2 separate regions of the Homo sapiens genome follow, and region 1 is linked to region 2. The links are contacts of gene promoters, found by promoter capture Hi-C in human tissues and cell types (Jung and others, 2019). All regions are on one chromosome and are shown on one strand. Each heading gives the region's core, a stretch centred on a gene start or on the middle of the fragment in contact. The rest is flanking DNA. Distances are from core to core; before and after follow the strand shown. Region 1 holds the start of SLC17A3 (solute carrier family 17 member 3). Region 2 holds the start of SLC17A1 (solute carrier family 17 member 1).

Region 1 (4,674 bases), core at 1,615-4,114, 45 kb after region 2:
ACAAAGCTTCAGCTTCCTGCCACTTCTCCCTCACTTTTGTCAGTCTTGTTAATATGGATTTTTACATTTTTCATTTTTATTTTTATCATATGAGGAAACTTGGGGTTGGGGAGTATATAAAAATTGTCCATTGCTATACAGAAAAGAGTTTTGGAGGTCTTCATCTCAATACCAAGAGAAGTGACTTACCGACTTAATGTCTGTGGAAGGGCTTCAAGTTGAACCCAGCGTTTCCTCCAAGCTTACTCCCTTGGACTTTTTGGAGCAGAGAGATGAGGATTCTTTGCCACCCTAGGGCTTAAGTTGCTAATCATTAATAAAAGTCATCAAACTACAAAGTTGACTCAGAAGGGCTTCTTGCCAAATAGGCTTTGAAGAAGCATTCGGAAATCCAGCCCAATCCCCTCTGCAGTTCTTTCTGCTTTTTGGCTGATGTAAGCTTCTCCACCTTCCCCTTGTGAGTGTCTCCTCAGGACCTCATAGGTGTCCTCTGGTTCAGACACTTGCATATAGCTATTTTGCTTTGCTTTGTGGTGTCTTCAATGTCTTTAGTCTTTTTTGAAAAGGTTAAAAAGAGATAAATTATAATTAAAGAGTTCAGTATTTTTGTGTTTTTTACTTTGCTATTTTTGATTTTCCCCCTTAATTGAAATTTTGTTAATTTTTTTCTTCTTTGAAATATGTGAATTGTAATATTATGGGTAAACTTGAACTTCATTCACTCTGTTGCTTTCTCTTTCCCTGGGTCCTTGTCCTTTTCTCAGCAAACCAAACCAAACCAAACCAAACAAGCCTGGCATAAATATAATATGATTTCTCCATTTTTTTCTATTCTTACTATTTATATGAGTATTCACAAACTATATGTAATAATGCTTTGTATTATTTCTAAATTTGCACACATGCTATCATGTAGCATTTATGGGCCATTCTGTAACCACTTTGGAAAATAAGTGGCATAAATTTGGCATACCTACATGTGCACAGTGAAGGCCAAACTCTTTCAGTTTCTTGTGGTTAACTCTTGCGCTAACACCCAGGAAGTCAAAAGCACTGTCACTGCTTTCCAAGAATGTGTATAGTTCTGCTTGTCCTTGTCTCATAGATGAGGCAAAGCCTTCAGACTCCTAGCTTTCTGTAGTTTATTTCCAGCTCTCTGAATGCCTTGGGTTCATAATCCAGACTCCTTTCTTTATATGAGCATTAGAGTCAGCCATGGAAATTTACACCTTGTTCTGTGCTTTAATGGCTTTCCTGGCCTTAGCTCATACTCATCACTTTGACTTTAAATCCCTTCTTACTTTATGGCCCTGAGGAGATCTCCTTTAGATTCTAAGTTTGACTCTTTATACCTATTTGAACTGTATTGTGAGAGGAGAGTGAGTAAACTACCTCTCAACACCCTGGCTGAGAAGTGGGAGCCTGGCAGTATATATCACAGATCAAGAATTCAGAAGGAGGAACCCGGGTCCTGGGGAGTCAGAGCTACCATTTACTGCGCATTTATTACATGTCATCCTCACAATGCTTTCAGGTAAGTTTTATTATATTCTTTATAACATAAAAGAAAAAAAACAGATTTCTTCCATCTGCACTTTAAGAATTTAAGTATGGAAAATTTAAGCCCGTTATCGTGTGGGGGTAGTGTCAATTTCACCTTTCTAGGTAAAAGATTTTTCCCTGAGTCATTTCTGAAGGACTCTGGACCCTGGGATAAATAATGATCAACTTTGGGATTCACATATCACAGGAAATGTTTCTGACCCTGAATTATCCAAGTCAGAAAACGTTACTTGGTTTTGCAATTTAATGTTTAACTTTATTTAAAGTGCTCCTGAGTTCTTTACATGCTACTTGGTTTGACTTGGTAGAAATAGACCCAAATTGTCTCTGTGTAGAAAGAATAACAATTCAGCTTTTCTTCACCTCTATGATTAAACACTTGAATATGAATTGAGATATTTCCTTGACTTAGGTTGTAATATCCATCTCTTTTAAAAAAAGAATTTTACATTTTCCTTTTGAATAAGATTTATTTTTAAACTGCTTTGTTTTAGCCATGGGGATCATCAGAAAAGATAGAGTACACATTTCTCCTTTAACAGTTATCTTTAGCCAGGCGTGGTGCTTCACGCCTGTAATCCCAGTGCTTTGGGTGGCCAAGGCCAGAGGATTACTTGAGGCCAGGAGTTTGAGACAAGCATGGGCAACAGTGAGACCTCCTCTCTACAAATTTTTTTTAGAAAATTGGCTGGAGATGGAGGACGCATTTGTAGTCCTAACTACTCAGGAGGCTGATGAGGAGGATTCCTTGAGCCTAGGAGTTCAAGGTTACAGTGAGCTATGATCATGCCAGTGCACTCCAGCCTAGATGACACAGCAAGACTCTCTCTAAAACAAAACAACAACCAAAAAAAAAAAAAAAAACAGCTATCTTCAGACTTGTTTCATAAGACTGTGAACATTGTTGTTAATAATCAGTCACATGACAGCTCAGCAGGATGCAGGCTCTGATTCTGGGTTACATTTCAGAGGACTCCAGTGCACAATCCTGTTGTGATCATAGGAAACCTGTCTCTAGTCTTCCTAGAGGAAGCCCAGGATGGGTCCAGGGAGAGGAAGCACCTTTAAGAGTCAGACCTTCCCTCAAAGCTCACAATGTCAGCAGGGATTCTGATGAATCAGGGGTAGCTGTCAAGCAAACACACTGAATGAGCCTAAGTCTTAAAACAGAAGACTTGACTAAATGGCAGTGGTCATTCACTGGAGCTTGGCTGGTTTTTCACACACACTCTGGTCTAAACAATGAACCCATATGTGATGTTATATCTGCTCAGAACCTTACATCTTCATGGTTCTGGCAAATCCTTTTTTCTCCAAGTTCAAGTCAGACTCCTGTTTTGCCTTACCATCTCTATGACAAATGGGGTCAATCTGGTCACTGTAGTTATCAGGCTGACATCATCTGGTCATGGGCTTGGAAGTCCATCTAGAACACTAGTGGAACACTCCATCTCTATTATTTTGTCTTCTATCGCTGAGCAAAATGGTGCATTTTTTGTTATCTACACAATGCATTAACTTATGTCCTAGATTGCCATACTGAAAACACGTCTTACTTTTTTCCTTACACATGTCTGCTTTCTAGTCTACTTTCCAGTTTCGATGCCATTTCTTTCAGCAACTATTTTGCCAGGAATGCCCAGCTAAAACTGCAAAATCATATATTGAGGACAATGGCTATGGAAAAGAAGAAAGAACAATTGTGACAAGTATAATCTCTAGGAGAATACACAAAAAAAAAATCAGGAGTGCTTATGGGCTGAGGTGTTATATGCTTTCAGATAGAATAGTAAACAAAATTGATATCTGTAGTGCATAAAGGATGTCATAATTATCAAGTGAGAAAGTGTTGCATTCTTTAACCAGCACAAGTTACAAAATTATACCATGCTGAATTCATATCAAGACAACTTCACCTACTACCAGGGACTTAGAGTAAATGTATTTTACTTTGTTGAGTCTCACTTGGAGATCATTGAAAAAAATTAGGAATAAATCATGAAACAAAATGAAACCATCCACCATACTTTGCATATAACAGAAAATCAATCAATGAAGGTCATCTGTCATAATTATCATTACCATTATTATTTCTATGACCACCTCTGAGACGTCATGATTAATATTCATGATTGAAATAAAGCAATTAAAAATCAAATTCATTCAAAATAATCAAATATAATTTAATTAAAAAGTTGGAGGCAGTCAGCCATCAGTCAAAAAATATTGTTACTGTATGCATTCCAAAAAGAAATGTAAAGGGATAGCATTCCCTAGAAACAATGAATAAAATAAAATTCCCTGTATTTAATAAACAGCATCTGTAAAACCTACAACAAACATTCCGAAGGTGAATCTTCCTGTTACAATCAGATACATAAAAGAGGTGTTTGCTACATCTATTCACTGGAAGGCCTAACTAGCACAATAACACAAGAAAGAAATGTGAAGCAATTAGAAAACAAGTAAAACTATGATTATTAACAGATGATATGATTGTCTACATAAGAAAACAAAAAAAATCTGTACATAAATTACTTAACTAATGTGAGTTTGGCAAATTTGACAGATGGAAAAGTGATATTCAAAGACTGACTGCATTTTAATTACCAGCCCAAAACAAAAAAAAAGATATTATAAAAAGAGATACAATTCACAATGGCAATAAAAGAATGTAACAGCCACAAAAGGATATAAAACCTAGGAATAAATCTAATAAAAGATGTAGAAGATCGTTACGCAGAAAATTGTAAAGCTTTATTGTAAGGTATTGAAGTCGAACTAAATAAAGAGACATAACATTTTTATGAACAGGAACATTCAAAAATGTAAAAATCTCGTCTCTCCAGACTAATCCATATGCCATTCCAACCAATATTCCAAAATAATTTTCCATATAATTTAATTTACTAAATATATCCTCAAATAAAGATGGTGGTTATCTCTTTCTTTGTAATCATTCTTCTACTCTGCCCCTCACCCCCTTTTCAGAGACTCCTTGTAATAAGGCCTATTTAACACTAAATACGTGCTGAACACTATTCTAAGCACTTTACATACAATAACACTTTTACTTCTCATAGCAAACTTCTATGGTAGGTACTATTATTA
Region 2 (5,191 bases), core at 1,717-4,216:
GGCTTAGTGAAGATGGGGGCCTCAAAACATAAGTTGGGCCTTGAAGTCAGATGTTTCACTGTGGACTTTTGATCTTGGGATTTTTGGCCTTCCATGATATGGGGACAACAGGAATCAAATACCAAGGTCCTAGCGATGCGATAGTGTATAGTAGGAGACCCTCTCCTAAAATGCTTGGATGTCAAAGATTTACATGGTTCAATGGAGGATGAACACATTGCCCCCTTATCTTGTCAGTGGACTGCCAAGAAATTTTGTGCCATATGAACTTAAGAGCTGAATAGAAGGGGGTAAAAGAATACCCCTGAGAAATTTAATCATCAGCCAGCCCTTCCTTTGATTTGCTGCCTAAACTCAGTATCATAGGGAAGTGAATGGATCTAGAAAGCTATCAGAAACTTTGTAAACACACCTGCAGGAGTCTCTACATGGTAAAAGGGAAGTCATTGTCACCATGTCAGAGAAGGGCTCATTGTCTTAGTCATTTAGGGGTATGCTTTTGAGTTTTACTCATTTCTCTCCTCCACATTGCTCCAGGAAGTCCATGAATTATGTCTAAACAAGTTTTAAGTTAAAAAGAAGACCACAGGGGGAATTCTAAAGTGTTTGGGATTGAGTAATAAGAATACCGCATATCAAACTCATGGACAGAGTAAAATGTGCATCTGTAAATATATTTATCAAAAAAGAAAGAATTTAAACACTTGGAAACTGAGCAAAGGAACAAACCCAAAAAGTCTAAAAGGAATTAAATGCATAAGGGCAGAAATGAATAATATATAGAAAAAAACATATATATATAAACTTTGAATGCAGATTAAATGGACAACTTAAACAATCAAAATAATTAAGTATCAAAGTTGATACAAGAAGAAATACATAATTTAATATACAGTAACTTTTTCATAAGTTGAAAAAGTATACAATCTATCGCTCATCTCCTTTTCTGGGATTTTGTCCCCTATGACATTGACACAACGCTAAACCAATAGCAGTAATCCTTTATTGTCATTACACTACCCTGCCTAAAATAAACAGCTTCTCTCAAAAAATATTCAGTACACATTCAGCTGTTGATGTCCAAGAATGCAGGGACTCAAGAACATTCATCCTGCCTTACTTCCACTTACAGATCTATCTCTCTTTCTCTTGGAGATGGAACCAAAATAGCCCAGTTTTTTCTGATATTTTCCACTAAATGATAAACTGACAAGTGCGCAAAAATGAAAATAAAGTGTAAGCCACCAGAGTATGTAGAATCTTTTTATTTAGGGCTTTTCTGGTGGAAAACCATAGTAGGACTGGTTTCTTCTACCTTCTTTTCTGAACATTTTTAAGACCCCATATGTATATCACAAAAATATTCTTCCACATGGAATCTGTGATGTAATATTTAAGAAAAAGAACACCTGTTTAATGGAACAGAATAAAGTGCTACCTTTTTTGGGAGGCAACCGGTTATCCATTTGCATACACGGCTGAAGTTGCTTCTCTTCTTGCTGAAGGGTTTTGCCTCCACCCACTGTGAGTGCAAAACACGTTGATGTCAGCATAATGTAGAGAGGCAACTGACCAAACACTACCCAGTACTCCTCTCTGATTTAAAACCGCTTCCAAGGATAACTTGCTCCATCACAGCAGTGCCCATTCACCTCCATTATGTGCTTCCCTTGATATTTATTTTACTTTTGTGATTGTTTTGGTTGATTAAAAATATATGGAAGACCTGAAAACTACAGAGAACAAACAAATAACCCTGCCAATCCAGAATTCTAAATCCGTGATAATATTCCTCCAAAGTGAGAAATGGAAAGAATTCATTGCCAGTAGACCTGCCCTGTAAGGAACACTAAAAGAAGCCTTTCAGGCAGAAGGAGATTGCTATAGGTCAGAAACTCGGCAGTATGAAAAGAAAGGAAGAATGTCAGAAAAGGAGTAAGCAAAGGTAAAACAAATTCCTTTTTTCCCCCTGTATCTTAATAGAGCTGGAAGATACTATCTGCTTATTGATAAGATCAACTCAAGCAGAGGCTAATCATTCGTTACACGTCCACATGCCCCTGTCCGTATCTTCAGTTTCCGTGGATAGAGCAGCCACTGATGCAAAGCTTTATGGCAGGAAGCTCAGTGGAGAATCAGAATGGAGCAGTCTCCTATCAGGCAACCCCTTACCATCAGAATTCAGCACCAATATGTGCTGGTCAGGTTAGACCTCAGGATTTTACCATATCAGATTATATGATACCTAGTGCCCCAAAGATACCAAAGTCCTGAGATTGGATTTGCAAAATATTTTTGAATAAGCAATTTGTCAACCATCATTATCACACATTGGAACCTCTTCTGGGGCTGCTGTTTATTTCAATACATATATACATACACACCAAATGCACACACAAACCACCCATACGTATGCACCACATACATACATACAACATAAACACATGGTACAAACTCCCCTTATGTTCTCCACACATACACTCCAGACACATAGCAAACCAAACATATAAATACGTTACAATACTGCATCCTCAAAACGGAAGTACAAACTACAAACACCACACACATAACCACACACACACATAAATGATGGGCACAGATGCACCAGGCGTACACAGTGTGCCACACACATTACAGACACAGCACACCACAGCTATACAAGCATCACACACTGTACAACACATACTTCTCTTTCCTTGTGTCCCTGTGAACCTCACACTGATTGCTAAAAATATGTTCTTTTTTCTCTTGTGAAAAGCCTCAGAAGATAGGGCATATTCCACCCCTCCCCACATTTTCCCCTATTGCTAAGTACTTTCAATAATATCTTTGCCAGGGAATGCCCCCTTACGGCCCTCTGGGGAATCAACTGATTGCTCATTTCATTTAATGAGCCCCGTAGACTAACCTGATTCGGGACAAAAAAGTGATTTCTTCTTCCGCTGTGAAGACTTTTCTCTCAACTTTACACAATATTGACTTTCTAGGATTACCAAGTTTAGCCCCATAAATCATTCACCAAATCTTTTGACATCACTGTGTCGAAGTTAAAAGCTTAATTTTTAACTTTACTGTTACCTTTTCCTTAAAGCTTCAGGGAAGGTGTGTGGGTCAAAATCATCCAGTGGACCAGAAACTGGGAATCTGCCAGTAATTTCATGGCATAATAAGCAGACACCCTTAGTCTCTCTCCCTGCCCAGGAGGTAGAGCTTGCCTGCCATAAGTGCTCTCAAGATTTCTCTATTAAGGATGGCTCTGAGTATACAATGCTGTTCTCACAGGAATGTTGTGGCTTTCTAAATGCCCCATAAATGCCATATTAAATTTTTACTCTTAATTCCCTTCCTTCCTTTCTTCCTCCTTTTCTTCCTTTTTTCTTTCTTTCTTCCTTCTCTTTCCCTTCTTCCTTCTCCCTCCTTCCTTGCTTTCCCTCCTTCCCTCACCCTGTCTCCTCCACACTCCTCTCTAAACAGTACATCTGTTTGACATTCAGCATACTCAGAAAGAGGTACATTTTATTGAGGCATGTCCTCTGGAAGGTGTGGCTTCTCTCATGGCTCTTCCTGCAATTACTGTAGGTTCTGGTTCATCCACTTGGTTATAGCAATATCCAGAAACATTAAAAAAAAAACATAGAGAGACAGGATCTCACACTGTCACCCAGGCTGGAGTGCTATGGTGCAATTATAGCTCAGTGCAGACTTGAACTCCTGAGCTCAAGGGATCCTTCCACTTCAGCCCCAAGTAGCTGGGATTACAGGTATGCAACACTGTACCCAGCTAATTGGTAGAGACAGGGTCTTGCTGTGTTGCCCAGGTTGATATCAAACTTCCTGCCACAAGCAATCCTTGTGCCTTGGCCTCCCAAGTGTTGGAATGACAGGCGTGAGCCGTCGTGCCTGGCCCCTAATACTTTTAACTTAGAACTCTTTGAAGGTAATCTACTAATTACTTAAAAATATCCAAGCACTAAAATCAGTGATTTTGCATTATAGGTAATTTATTTCATGCTTAACAAGTTTTTTTTTAATTTTTATCATGCTTTTAAAGTGCTCATTAAATGTTTGGCACATAGCAGATGCTCTGTAAATTCAACCAGTTATTTTTTTCCTCTAAAGAAATGTTGTAAATCTTTAACCCCTTTGCCCAGGAGACTTTGATGTTGTTATTCAGTTAGATTTTTTCTTTTTCAAAAGTCCAGATTCTGCTGGTCCTCTTCTGTGTGTTGCAGAATGTTTGTACTGTCCTGTTTCATGCTGGGCAATTTCTGGCATTTTCTGAAAGAGGAGCCCTTTTAGTGATTGAAACCCCTAGGTCAGCAGTTGTTCAAAGTCCATGTGTTAAATAATAACACTCCCATCTGCCATCAGTATCCCAGTTCTGGATACTGATTACCTGAAGGAGAACCATCTTTCTGTTTGCTGGCCCCAAAGCTTTCTGCTGCTCTGTGAGATTCTTTGAAATTGTTTCTTTTGGATTCTGTGTTTTATGTATTAAATTTTTAAATTTATCATTTTATTATGGAAATGTTTAAGCATACAAAAAAGTAGATCAGTTTAAGATAACTGTGTACATATTCACCCACTTCAATAATTATCAATATTTGGCCATTTGAGTTTTCATTTGGCCTTTTGAATGTTATCAACAACATTCAATGGTTGTTTTTTGTAGCATTTTAAAGCAGATCTCAGACATTATGTCATTTCTTCTATAAAACATTCAGCATGGCTATCTAATTCATTAGGACCTTAAAAGATATAACTAACATGGTATCAGCACATCTAGTAAATAAACAATAATCCCTTAACATCACCTAATATCCAACCTTTATGACAATTTTCCCAATTGCTTCAAAATTGTGTCCTTTATATTTGCTTGATTTAAGTGAGGATTTGAATAGGATCCACATAATGGCGCTTAATTGTTACGGCTGTCATGTCTCTTATTTTATAATAATCCCCTCTCCCAGTTTACATTTGCCATTACTTAAAAACAACAACAATAAAACAGGATCCCTTGCAGAGTGTCTCTCCTAATTGGTTTGGCTAATAGCTCGCTTTTAGGATTATTTGATATATTTTTGTATTTCCTTACATCCTGCAAACCGTGAGGTTTATATAGAGGCTTGGTTAGATTCAGCACAAAAACAATTCACAGGGATATGGGATGATACAGGGTACTATCGCTCCG

The links. Contacts are between HindIII fragments. The study calls those that stand out against the background at their distance.
Region 1: a fragment that was not itself captured here is called in contact with the fragment with the promoter of SLC17A1 in region 2 in 1 of the 25 tissues and cell types used here (liver).

The regions. Positions count from the first base shown.
Region 1 is chr6:25,873,978-25,878,651 of GRCh38, forward strand. SLC17A3 (solute carrier family 17 member 3) reads right to left here and starts at 266. Exons shown (of 13, transcript NM_001098486.2): 1 at 190-266. The HindIII fragment of the contact is 5,482 bases long and covers 124-4,674 here.
Region 2 is chr6:25,829,086-25,834,276 of GRCh38, forward strand. SLC17A1 (solute carrier family 17 member 1) reads right to left here and starts at 2,967. Exons shown (of 13, transcript NM_005074.5): 1 at 2,909-2,967; 2 at 1,439-1,522. The coding sequence starts at 1,472. The HindIII fragment of the contact is 3,299 bases long and covers 464-3,762 here.